2 separate regions of the Homo sapiens genome follow, and region 1 is linked to region 2. Evidence: promoter capture Hi-C in human tissues and cell types (Jung and others, 2019). All regions are on one chromosome and are shown on one strand. The core of a region is centred on a gene start or on the middle of the fragment in contact, and the rest is flanking DNA. Distances in the headings are between cores, read along the strand shown. Region 1 overlaps SUPT3H (SPT3 homolog, SAGA and STAGA complex component). Region 2 holds the start of RUNX2 (RUNX family transcription factor 2).

Region 1 (6,309 bases), core at 3,528-6,027, 82 kb before region 2:
CTATAGAAACAATGTTTATCGCTGGCTTGAGGCCAATAAATATGTGGGTAAATCTCTGTTCGGGGCTCTCAGTTCTGAAGGCTGTGAGTCCCCTGATTTCCCACTCCACACGCTATATTTGTGTGTGTGTCTTTAATTCCTCTAGAGCTGCTGGGTTAGGGTCTCCACGATCAAGCTGGTCTCAGCAAGAGTGAGAGGTCATCAGTGAGAAAAGAGGTTTGTGGCCAAGAAAGTACATGACCAATGAAAGAGAGTTAACAGAAATGGAAGGGGGAAAAAGAAAGGTAACTAGAATAAAAACTACTAGTTTAAAGAGAATGGAATATAATTAGGAAAAAGCAAAGTAAATTTGTCCAGAAGAATAAAACAAAGCATAGGATCCTTTGAGGAAAGAACACAAGGCAAGAAAGCAAATTGCTAGTCATGAAGGACTACACAAAGTGGTTATGTTTTACTCTATCCAATAAAACATGATTAATAAGAAACCAATCAATTACATTATTCCAACAGTATTCTAAATAACATTCCAGACAGTTCCACTTGTGGAAACTACAGAGCAAATTTACTTGACTTGGTCTTCTGCTGTAAACAACCAGAAAACTAGATAAAATACATGAAATAACTGGCCTCACACAACAAACAAAAACCATGCATAACAGCAATGACTGAAAGAAGCAAAATAAAGAACACCCTATGCTTATCCAGCCTTTCGTGTGTAGGTACTTTCTAAACAGAATAAGGACAGGGATAGAACATAGAAGCCAAAGTTCAAGAGACAGAGACAACAACTTGAGAGGTAGAGGCAACTGAAGTGCCTAAGTGTACCGAAGAGATAGTATTTCACCAAGAAAGAACTTTAGAAGTCTCCACTGATGTCCCCTTGAGGCTTTGGCTAAATACTAAGTTGAAAATGCATAAAGACAAAATTCACAACACAAGACACAACCATAGGGGAGCTTGAAGATGAACATTCTCAGAGCTCATATCAAGCTGGGAGACACTTAAGTTCACACCAGTCAGAGTGTAGACATCACTGAATACAATAGTGGCATTCAATAGTGACTCTTGGAAAGCAGTAGACTATAATGGCCCTAGAGTAAAAAGTATTCCATACTAATTCTAAGAAAATTTTAAAAACTCAACAAGATCAAGTGTATCTATAACTAATCTATAATTAAATTGCCTGGAAAAACAAAATTCACCATTCTTGAAGGAAGATAACAAAATCTAGAAAGTCAAAAACATGAGTCACAATGACTCACCACCAAATAATTTATTAGACATGCACAAAAGCAGGAAAATAAGGCCCATAAACAGAAGAAAAGTCAATAGAAACAGATGCAGAAATGGCATAGATAACAAAACTTGGCAGGAAAAGCTTTTAAAAGAGCTATTATAAGGCTGGGCGTGGTGGCTCACGCCTGTAATCCCAACACTTTGGGAGGCCGAGGAGTGTGGATTACTTGAGGTCAGGATTTAGGACCAGCCTAACCAACATGGTGAAACCCTGTCTCTACTAAAAATACAAAAATTAGCTGGGCATGGTGGTGTGCACCTGTAATCCCAGCTAGTCGGGAGGCTGCGGTGGGAGGATTGCTTGAGACTGGGAGGCAGAGGTTGCAATGAGTTGAGATAGATCGTGCCACTGCACTCCAGCCTGGGAAACAGAGCGAGACTCCTTCTCAAAAAAAAAAAAAAAAAAAAAAAGCTACTATGTATTATATACAAGCTCAAGAATTTAAAATGAGCAGACAAAAAAATCTAACAATGAAAAAGAATCTTAAGAAAACTTCTATAGCATAAAAAATATATACAAAGTGAAAAAACTCACTGCACAGCTTAACAAAGTCAGCCAATGAAAAGAAATAATAAAAATTTGAATGAAAATCAAATAGAAAACAGACCAAAAACACAGAAAAATTACTCAAACCTAAACCTGATCTTTTTAAAAGATTGATAAAATCAATAAATCACTAGTTAAACTAACTGAGAATGAGAAAAAGAACACAAATTATGAATCTCATTAATACAAGAGATTGTAAAAGAAGAGGCATAACTATATATTCTACAAACACTGAAATGATAATAGGGTAATATTTTGAGTTACTTTATGCCAATAAATTCAACAACTGAGATGAGATGGACAAACTCCTTGAAAGACACTACCAAAAATGGTATAAAACTTTGAAAATCTGAATAGCCCTATATGTATTAAAGATACTAAACTACTAAGTAAAAATTTTCCAATAAATATCATTCTGAATTACAAAGAGCAGTTCTCCTTCTTTGCACTAATACTGTTGCCTGTATTTCCCCTGTATCAGATTACAATATACCCGATCTGTTTTATATTTTTAATTTACTATTTGTTCATTTAATTTTATTTGAGACAAGGTCTCACTCTGTCACCCAGGCTGGAGTGCAGTGGTGTGATCATGGCTCACTGCAGCCTCAACATCTGGGCTCAAGTCATCCTCCCACATCTGCCCTCCTGGGTAGCTGGGAAGACAGGCATGTGCCACCACACCTGGCTAATTTTTTTCTATTTTTTGTAGAGACAGGGTCTCACTATGTTGCCCAGGCTGGTCTCAAACTCCTGGGCTCAAGTGATCCTTGGCCTCCCAAAGTGCTGGGATTACAGGCATGAGCCATGGCATCTGGCTGTTTTGCTTTTGGCTGATTACCATTTAGATCAGAGATGGCACGGCCTCCGTAATTCACCTATAGGAGCCATTACAACCAATCACAAATCTTTTTCCTACTAAAGCCTAGATACGCTCCCACAGTTCTTCTCAAACATTTCAAGCAACCAAGGGGAGCTGCATATAAAGATAAAACCTATTAGCCACACCTTATTTATATCCTTAATAATAATTTCATTATTCATCTCATTTTTAAATCATTATTTTTCCCAAATAGCTTTAGGAAAATTTTCCAATCTTATGCTCTCCTTCATTATTTAAATCTTACACAAAACAGTACTCTTGTATAAGTGAACATTTTAAACAAACAACCCCACTACCTTTTCCTGAAAACTGGTGCTGTCCACACAATACTAAATTCTTCCTGGTTAATACCTTCTACACTAATTTTACCCAATTTTCTTGCCTATCATCTCTACCTGTTTAACACTGTTTAGAGTTTAATTGCATGTAATTTTCTAACTCATTACCTGTTGCTATTACACCTCAGTAAACTTCTATCTCTTCCACACCCAACATTCTCTTTCACATTAACCTAATTCCTACTTCCCTATCTTCTAAAATACACATGTTCATTCCCTTCTCCATTCCAATATTTCAGCACTTTTCATTCTGAGGGTTAAATTTCTTGAGAATAAAGTTTTCTATGTGCTTATAATATAGATGTCTTATAAATCTATACTAAATAAATGAAAAATCTTATTATTTGAGCTGCAATTTGACATAATAAATACAACCAGTTACTAAATATCTATGAATGCACCTAAAATTCCCATTTCATTATTTACAAACTCTTCCACAGTAAAACTAGCTTTACCTTCGAGCATTAAAAGATTTTGTAAAAATCATTTTTTAAGATTGGTAATGCTTTGATTGGTAAGATCATAAATATTTTCTACAAGTTTTTCATTGCAAATGTGTAGTATTTCAGATATTTCACATGTTTTTTCAAGAATATCTATTTTGGTTAATCTGGGAATTTAAGTCCCTAAATAATACCATTACCAAGGTAATGTGTATTCTGAGTTCCAAACAATTAAAATACAAGTGAACTTTTCTTTGTGTGGTAAAATATTCATAACATAAAATTTACTATTGTAACCATTCTTAAGGTTAAAATTCAGTGACATTAAGTACATTCACATTATTGAGCAAACATCACCACTATCCATAACCAGAAATTTTCTATCATACCAAGCTGAAACTCCACACCTATTAATCAAAAGCTCCAAATTCCCCCTCCTCTAGCGCCTGGTAATCTACTTTCTGTCACTATGAATTTGACCATTCTAGGTACCTCATATAAGTGGAATCGCATAACATTTGTCCTTTTAGGTCTGCTTTATTTCACTTAGCCTAATGTTTTCTAAAATTATCCATGACGCAAGAAGTTCAAAATTTAATTCCTTTGTAAAACTAAATAATATTCCATTTCATGTAGGTACCACATTTTTTTATCCATTCATCCACTGATGGACATGTTGGTTGTTTCCACCTTTTGGATATTGTGAATAATGCTGCTACAAACACTGGTGTACCAATATCCATTTGATACTCTGCTTTCAATTCTTTTGGGTATATAACCAGAAATACAATAGCTGGATCATGTGGTAATTCTGTTTAATTTTTGAAGAACCACTATACCATTTTTCACAGCAGTTCAACAATTTTAAATTCCTACCAGCCATGCAGAAGTGTTCTAATTTGTCCATATCCTTGCCAACACTGTTTTTTTAATAAATAGCCTTTCTAATGGGTATGAAATGGTAACTCATTGTGGTTTTGATTTGCATTTGTCTAAGGACTGGTAATATAGAGCATATTTTCATATTCTAATTGGCCACCTGTATATTTTCTTTGGAGAATGTTTATTCAACATTTTTGCCCATTTTTTAATTGGGTTGTTTGGGAGTTTTTCTGTTGAGTTTTGGGAGTTCTTTATGTATTCTGGATATTAACCCCTTATCAGACATATGATTTAGAAATATTTTCCCATTCTGTGGATTTCCTTTTCACTCTCTTGACAGCGTCCTTTGATGCACAAAACTTTTAAATTTTAATGATGTCTAATTTTTTATTTTTCTTTCGTTACCTGTGTTTTTAGTATAATATCCAAGAAATCACTGCCAAATTCAATGTCTTGAAGCTTCTTCACTATGTTTCCTTTAAGAGTTTTACAGATTGAGCTCTTACATTCAGGTCTTTTATCAACACAGGTGAACTTTTAACCATCATCGTAACAGGAAGTAGAGTGCAACTTTGCACTAAGTTAAAATTATCAGTCCCATGGTTTGTTTTCTCCAAATTATGAAAAGCATTTGCTCTTAAGAATCAATATTTAACTCCTACTAGCATGTAAAAAATAGAAAGTAATGCAGATTCAAAATAGGAAAATAAGACGCTATTACTTCTTACAAAGTATGTTCTCTGACCATAAATAACCTAGAAATCAACAAAAGGAAGGTACCTGTGAAATCCCCCAAGTAATCAGAAATTGTAAAACACGTATCTAAGCAATTCACGGGTCAAGGCAGATGTCTTAAGGGGATTTACACATATTTTTAACTAAATGAAAATGTAAATACAACATATCAAAATTTGTAAGATACACCTAATGCAGTGCTAAGAGGAAAACTTACAGCATTAATTACACATATTAGAAAAGAAGGTCTTAAGTCAATAACCAAACCTTCCCTCTTAAGAAACTAAAAAGATAAGAAGTAATCCTAGAGTAAGCAGAAGGAAAGATATAATTGAGACAGAAATCAATGATATTGAAAACAGAGTAAAATCAATAAAAGTAGAAACTTTAAAATTGATAATTTTCCAGCCAGTCCAAGCACAAAGTACAAGAAGAGCTATCCCAATGGATCCCACAGATGCTAAAAGGATAATAAAGGAATACTATAAGCAAATCTCTGATAATAACGTTGACGAATTAAAAGAAATTGATGATTTCCTTGAAACATACAAACTACCAAAATTCACTGAAGTAGAAAGAGACAACTGGAATAGCCCTATATTTTTCAGGAAAGAGTTGAGCAGCCCTTCTGCTATCTTTTGGGGAGCCTGACTGCAGAGCTGGCCTTCAGCTGGCATGTAAAAACTTGGCCTTTGGGGTGTTCCCATGTAACATGGTTATTTTGCCTGTTTTGGGCACAAAACCCTGACATACCAGCTTAATCTAGGTCTTTTGTAGAAACACTGTGATTTATTATAAAGACCTGTTCTCTTTCTTGGAGTCAAGTATTTTACTAGTTATGGCTAGTCATGCAGGTACCATGTGCCTACATGACCAACCCTTAATAAAAAAACTCTTAAGTCTTAAGGGGGCTTTCTAGATAGAAACAATGCACATGCATTACTACAATTCACTGCTGGAAGAAGTGTGTTCTTTGTGCCTACCACTCTCAATAGGGAGAACTTTGGAAGCTTAAATCTAGATGCCTCCAGACTCTACTGGATTCTTTTTCCATTTTTTTTTTTTTTGTAGACATAGAAACCCAATTCTAACTTTCATACAAAAAAGGTAAGAAAACAAGAACTAGAGCCAAAAATGTTGAAAAAGAAGAACAAAAAGAATTCACTCTAAGACATTTTCTGACTT
Region 2 (6,411 bases), core at 3,788-6,287:
AAAATTGCTGAAGTCTGACAGCTAAGAGCACAGTGGATTAAGATTTATAAACGGAAACCTTAAATATATTAAAACCCGATTTTTTTAGATGATGCCTTAACATGTTTTTCAACCACATTATAAAAGCAGTTCACATTTTTGCTTTAGAATAACCTCCCTACAGTAAAGCACATAGACTGATAGAGCAAGCCATTAACATGAATAAAGAGCAAGAAAAACAATTACTTGAAAAAGAAATATGCCTCAGTGGACAATTCAAGTCCCACCCCCAACTTGGCAATAAAAGACATCTTAAAACAAATTGTAACGAAATATACATGACTATACTAAAAGTTTAGATAATGACAATGAGTATCTCAAAATTTAACTTATTTTTCCAAGTGATAATATCCTCTAATCCTATTTAATACTAAAAGAGTTCAATTGAAAGAGAGGAGATTTTCCTTTTGTACCTTTTCCAAGAAAGCTAATATACAAAAGATTCTCATTATAGGACAGTTTTACCTACAGCCATGTTCCATAGCACAAAGTTACAGCAGTGTTCCAACGTATACTATAATGTCCTACAGTTTCATTTACTATATTCTCTAAGTACAAAGGTTCTAAAAAGATTACTTTCACTTCTCCCTAGATACGTTAAATAGCATAGCTGGGATATTATTTTTCTTTGGTTTTGTCAGTAGCATGTTTGATATAAATTATATTAAGTGGTAGTGTATGTAACATTGCATTGTGGGTAGTAGTTTCCTGCTTTAGTCTAGCCACATCCTCAGCTGTCATATGAGCATGTTTCCCATATTTTCTGCAAGTTCTCGCCTTTTTTTATTATTACAAAAATGACAGCATTCAAAGATGAATTGTTCTAATAATTACAAGAAACATGAATTACTTATACAGCTACATTAAACAAGTATGGATCACTCTGCACTTCAAAGAATAATCAAAGAAAAAAAAGTAATCCTCATAATTAAAGTGTTAATACTATGTGAACAATGTATTAAAGTAAATTAGCATAAAAGGATTCAAGAAACAATTAAAAACAGCTGAAAGAAATTAAGTCTCTATAATCAGATGCCAATACTATCTAACAACTGAGGCATTACATATTAGAATATAACAATTTCTAATGAATGTTAAGAGCTCCAAATCTACCGAGTATTCATTAGTGAGGATTAATGTCAATATCCCCTACTAGAACTTAAGAATCTACTTTGAGGCTGTATAGAAATGAGGGAAAAAAGGAAGAGAACCCAAAAAAGCCTGAAGGAGAAAGAAAGGGAAAGAGGAGGAATGGGGGAGACAGGTAGAGGGAGAGAGATTGGTAGAGAGAGAGAGATAGGGAGAGGGAGGGAGGGAAGGCAGGAGAGATTGACTTAGCATTTTCTCTTCTGGCATTCCACATAATCTCACATTTAGACAGCTGCTAAAACTAATCAAATGAAGTTGTTCAAACAATCAGGGAAATGGTGCTAGTTTGGGTTTTTACCTGATCTAATTAAAATAAACTGAGAAAAATGCTCTTATTACAAAAAGTACTACAAAACAATGCCTTGTATACATACGCAATAAGACAAATGTGCATGCAGTTGTGTACATAAACATATACCCCATTAAACAAGGAAATGGAATACTGCACAGTCACCATAATTTAACAGATGAAACTATACATATTTTACTAACAGAAGTAGTCAATATAAGGCCAAATAGATCCCGTGTAAGCTTAAACAGCTATACATCAAATCCAAAAAAAAGAAAAATTGTCAAAAAAAAGTAAAATAAGAAACAGTCACATACCAAGATGAAACAATAAGTTAAAAACTTCCTTCGTAAAACCTCATAATCAGAACATTTTAAGCCAAATTAGGACTTCTAAAGTTTAAAAATTCCTGCATCAAACCATTTTCTCCTTTGTTTTTCAAAGAATGAGCAGCAAATAAAAGAATAGAGTTAGCAGCAAATAAGTCTAAAATAATCCTTAAAAAAATGCATAGAAATGAGCACAATATTGATAAAGTAAAACTAATGTATTAAAATATGATCATTAGTTAAGAAAATAAAAAATTACTCAAATGGTTACAATGAAGACACACATAGCATTTAAACACAAATACCTTGGTATTTTCAAAAGTTCAACCAATTCTAACACATTTTATTCACTACAAAGCAATGGAGAAGCAAGATACCAACAACTTTTTTTCTTTGAAATTGATTTCAAGATCAAAACTGTATTTCATTTCCATGGCATTAAAGTATGTGATTTATACAGTATACCTAAACTTGTTGCTTACTTCAAAACAGCAAATACTAACATGTCCCCAGAGAGGATAAAATTTTATGGGTCTTTAAAAAGCAAAAATAAAAATAAAAATAAATCTGTGGTTTTCAATTTCTGATTATAACCATGGTATAAATCTATAATCAAGAGCTTTATTTGCATTGACTTTTCTAAATCAGTATCTCTTCACCACGTGTAGTAAGCTATTTCTAATGAAACACACTGTTATCAAATGTGTACCAATTATCAAATGTGCCCCAGTTGTCATTGTTTTTTAAATTTTTACAACAAAGTAATATTTGCTCCAAAGAGGATATATTTTCGTTTTAGGAAAAAAATTCATGTGGATAATGAATATACTAACTTAAAGCACATGATTTCACTATCTTTCTCCTGCTAGAATTTGATAGGCCTCACAGAGGACAAAAAGTGCATATATAACAATATCTACTAAACTCTCAAATCCTGGTCCAAAAATTACATGCAGGAGGATTACCTGCAAAAAGTGAACAGGTAATTAAATGACAAATAGATGTTAAAAATTACTTAAATTCTTATCAGGTCAATTTGAAGAGCCAAAGTTTACATAAAGAAGATTTTAAGGAAGAAAATAGCAAAATGTTGGGTTTGTAAGATGTTTCAGTGAATGCTAATGTAGAAACTATAAGCTTATTTGAAAAGAAGAAAACCATTTGCTGATCATACTACAGCAGCTACCTACATATTTTCAATTAAGTGATTCTGCTATTATAGGTACACATGAAACCATGTTTGGAAATCCCACAAGCTATAAGGACAAAACCCTCCTTTTGTTTACTTTGGATACTAATTAGAGATACAGATAATATGGATACGACTTATTTATAAAAGAGAAAAAATAATTTTTCTCTCCTTCACATGAATAACTGCATGTTAAATGAACGCTTTTACCTTTCAATGTAAAATCTGTTTACACATACAATAAGGCATGATAAATCCATAGTTAAAATAAAACACCAAAATGTATTTCTGGTTTTTTATCACTAAAAGTTTATTCTGAAAAGGTTCTGGACATTTGAAAAATAAAGGACTAGAATCATTCCCATACCCTACCAGTGTATTTTGGGAAAATCAAATTTTCTGTAAAGAAACTTATGAACATATTTGTACAGTTATTGTGATCTAATATGAACCAAAAGCAGATAATGAATAGCACTAGGAAGAACACAGGGATATTTTAGTTCTAACACCCTCCTGTCTCCCTAGCCCTTACCTCCCTGCACATTCCAAATAATCTTTTGTAATTCACTGTCTCCGCCCACCCCATTTACTTTATGCCACTCCTAGTTACTGTCACACTAGGAAGAAGTCTAACATGCAGATTTAGAGTGGCATGGATAAATGGCAAAAAAATGCCTAGAAAATTGGTCTGTTCGCCTTTATAATTTTGGTTGAAAAATACTCCATCGCTCCCAACTGATGAAAACAGGAAGCTCTATTCATAAATATAAAATTCACTGCCTATGATATATAATCATCCTAATAAGAAAATGAGTTCTATACATACTTGTCCAAAGGGGCAAAAAAGGAGATAGTTTCCCAAAGATGTTTCCAATTTTCTTCTGAATCAGAATTAGCAAATCGAGACGACTAACATACTCTGTCTGTGGGCATTATTCCTTACTACACACAGCATTTTGTAATTTATTTCAAAGCTTCCATTAGAAACAAAAAAATACATAGCTTCTGTTAACCCACTCTATTCTAAGCTCATAGAATCAAATACTGAACAATCTACATTATAACATAAGCATTTTACTTTATAGAAGATCTGCTATCAGAAACTCTATTAATGTCTAAACTACTTAAAGAACTATATAAACTGAATACACTTCAATGAAAGACAAAAAATATTACAATCATAAAGAAAACTAAGATTCATCCAATAAACTATATTACAATCCCTGTCATTCATTTTTTTAAGATCTTCAAACTAGGCATGAGATAATGGTATACATGAAACATTACATTTAATCTTTATTGTAAAGGCCGCCATCTAATAGATTGATAATAAACTAGACAGACGTGATTTAAAATTTGTAAAAGAATGCCCAGACTAACACTTTCATGACAGCCAATTATAGTCAAGCCTAGCAAGCAGTTTGCAACCAGACCTTAAGGTAAACTTTTTTTTTTTTTACAATGAGTTACAGATTCACAAGTTTAAGAAGACAAGAAAAAGGAAAACAGAAGGAATCCAGCCACCCAGCAAATATGAAGCAGACCCCAGAATGTGATACAGTCCAAAGATGTGAATTATTGTATATCATCACTGTTGTTCAGAATTTCACACAGACTCTTGAGCCAATTTTGTTCATTTTTCCACAGACACAATAATGAACTAAAAAGAGGAGGCAAAAAGGCAGAGGTTGAGCGGGGAGTAGAAAGGAAAGCCCTTAACTGCAGAGCTCTGCTCTACAAATGCTTAACCTTACAGGAGTTTGGGCTCCTTCAGCATTTGTATTCTATCCAAATCCTCATGAGTCACAAAAATTAAAAAGCTATATCCTTCTGGATGCCAGGAAAGGCCTTACCACAAGCCTTTTGTGAGAGAAAGAGAGAGAGAGAAAGAGCAAGGGGGAAAAGCCACAGTGGTAGGCAGTCCCACTTTACTTAAGAGTACTGTGAGGTCACAAACCACATGATTCTGCCTCTCCAGTAATAGTGCTTGCAAAAAAAAGGAGTTTTAAAGCTTTTGCTTTTTTGGATTGTGTGAATGCTTCATTCGCCTCACAAACAACCACAGAACCACAAGTGCGGTGCAAACTTTCTCCAGGAGGACAGCAAGAAGTCTCTGGTTTTTAAATGGTTAATCTCCGCAGGTCACTACCAGCCACCGAGACCAACAGAGTCAGTGAGTGCTCTCTAACCACAGTCTATGCAGTAATAGTAGGTCCTTCAAATATTTGCTCATTCTCTTTTTGTTTTGTTTCTTTGCTTTTCACATGTTACCAGCTACATAATTTCTTGACAGAAAAAAATAAATATAAAGTCTATGTACTCCAGGCATACTGTAAAACTAAAACAAGGTTTGGGTATGGTTTGTATTTTCAGTTTAAGGCTGCAAGCAGTATTTACAACAGAGGGTACAAGTTCTATCTGAAAAAAAAAGGAGGGACTATGGCATCAAACAGCCTCTTCAGCACAGTGACACCATGTCAGCAAAACTTCTTTTGGGGTAAGTGTTACCATTTTTAAAATCCTGTAAGATATGAACCTGTTAAACATAAAGGTATGATTCTTTGATAAACTGCTAGCTTTTCCAAATAGCATATTAAAGATCCTAATTATGCTATCTTGTTGCATTAAGAATTGAAAAATGAAATTTCTGTATATATTTGCATTTGGTATCTGTAATGTATCTAATTTTCAAAGTAATGACTTGAAATATACAAAATTAAATTATCTCACATTGATCAAAATGTTTTCTAGAGTTATAGAGGTGAGGATATGAAAACAGTAAAAGAAACAGTTTAATACTCTCATTAACCCTCACCAGAAGAAAAGTCAGATCCTAAATTAATCAAAGCATTATAAATTATTGACTCCGGCAGCTCCCAATATTTGAGCAAACTTCAAAAAGGAAGCAATTTTACAAAATAACAGACCACAGAATTATCTCAACATTATGGTCTACCATGTATAACACAGAAATAAACCTGTAGTACAGTTAACATTTTAACCAGCTCAACTAAAAGAAATCTACTTATAAATTCAAACTGTATCCTATCTAAATAAGTTTGTTTCTAAACAACTTTATATAAGTATACATTCAGCTGAAATAAAATTATGATAAGCACATCACAGCCATTTTTAAAAGATCTTTATAGTTGCCCAGGATATTAAAAAGTTCATGGAAGTATTTTAAAACTTACATGCAACTGCATTTTTCTATGTAATTTTAATTTTACATCTACACACTGTTATCCATAGACCTTGTTATAAACACACTGAAACACTGAAACGTCTAAGATTCTTTTAATCACATTCTTGGACCTACCAAAATGAATAACTGCTGTTTAGTCTCATGAAAAATAAAGCTCCATAAGGATACCCTGTATGATTTTTAAAAGCCACAACTATTAAACCATGCTGGA

What was found. The method cuts DNA at HindIII sites, captures the fragments that hold promoters and counts their contacts. A contact is called where the count stands out against the background at its distance.
Region 1: a contact is called between a fragment that was not itself captured here and the fragment with the promoter of RUNX2 in region 2, in 2 of the 25 tissues and cell types used here (mesenchymal stem cells and spleen).

The regions. Positions count from the first base shown.
Region 1 is chr6:45,241,514-45,247,822 of GRCh38, forward strand. All of the region lies in intron 2 of SUPT3H (SPT3 homolog, SAGA and STAGA complex component), which reads right to left. Among named protein-coding and RNA genes, the nearest start is that of MIR586, 47 kb to the left of the region's middle. The HindIII fragment of the contact is 3,328 bases long and covers 3,114-6,309 here.
Region 2 is chr6:45,323,293-45,329,703 of GRCh38, forward strand. RUNX2 (RUNX family transcription factor 2) reads left to right here and starts at 5,038. Exons shown (of 9, transcript NM_001024630.4): 1 at 5,038-5,168; 2 at 5,369-5,492. The coding sequence starts at 5,435. All of the region lies in intron 2 of SUPT3H (SPT3 homolog, SAGA and STAGA complex component), which reads right to left. RefSeq lists a cis regulatory region at 3,756-3,762, a promoter at 4,720-5,360 and an enhancer at 4,767-4,807. The HindIII fragment of the contact is 4,056 bases long and covers 3,457-6,411 here.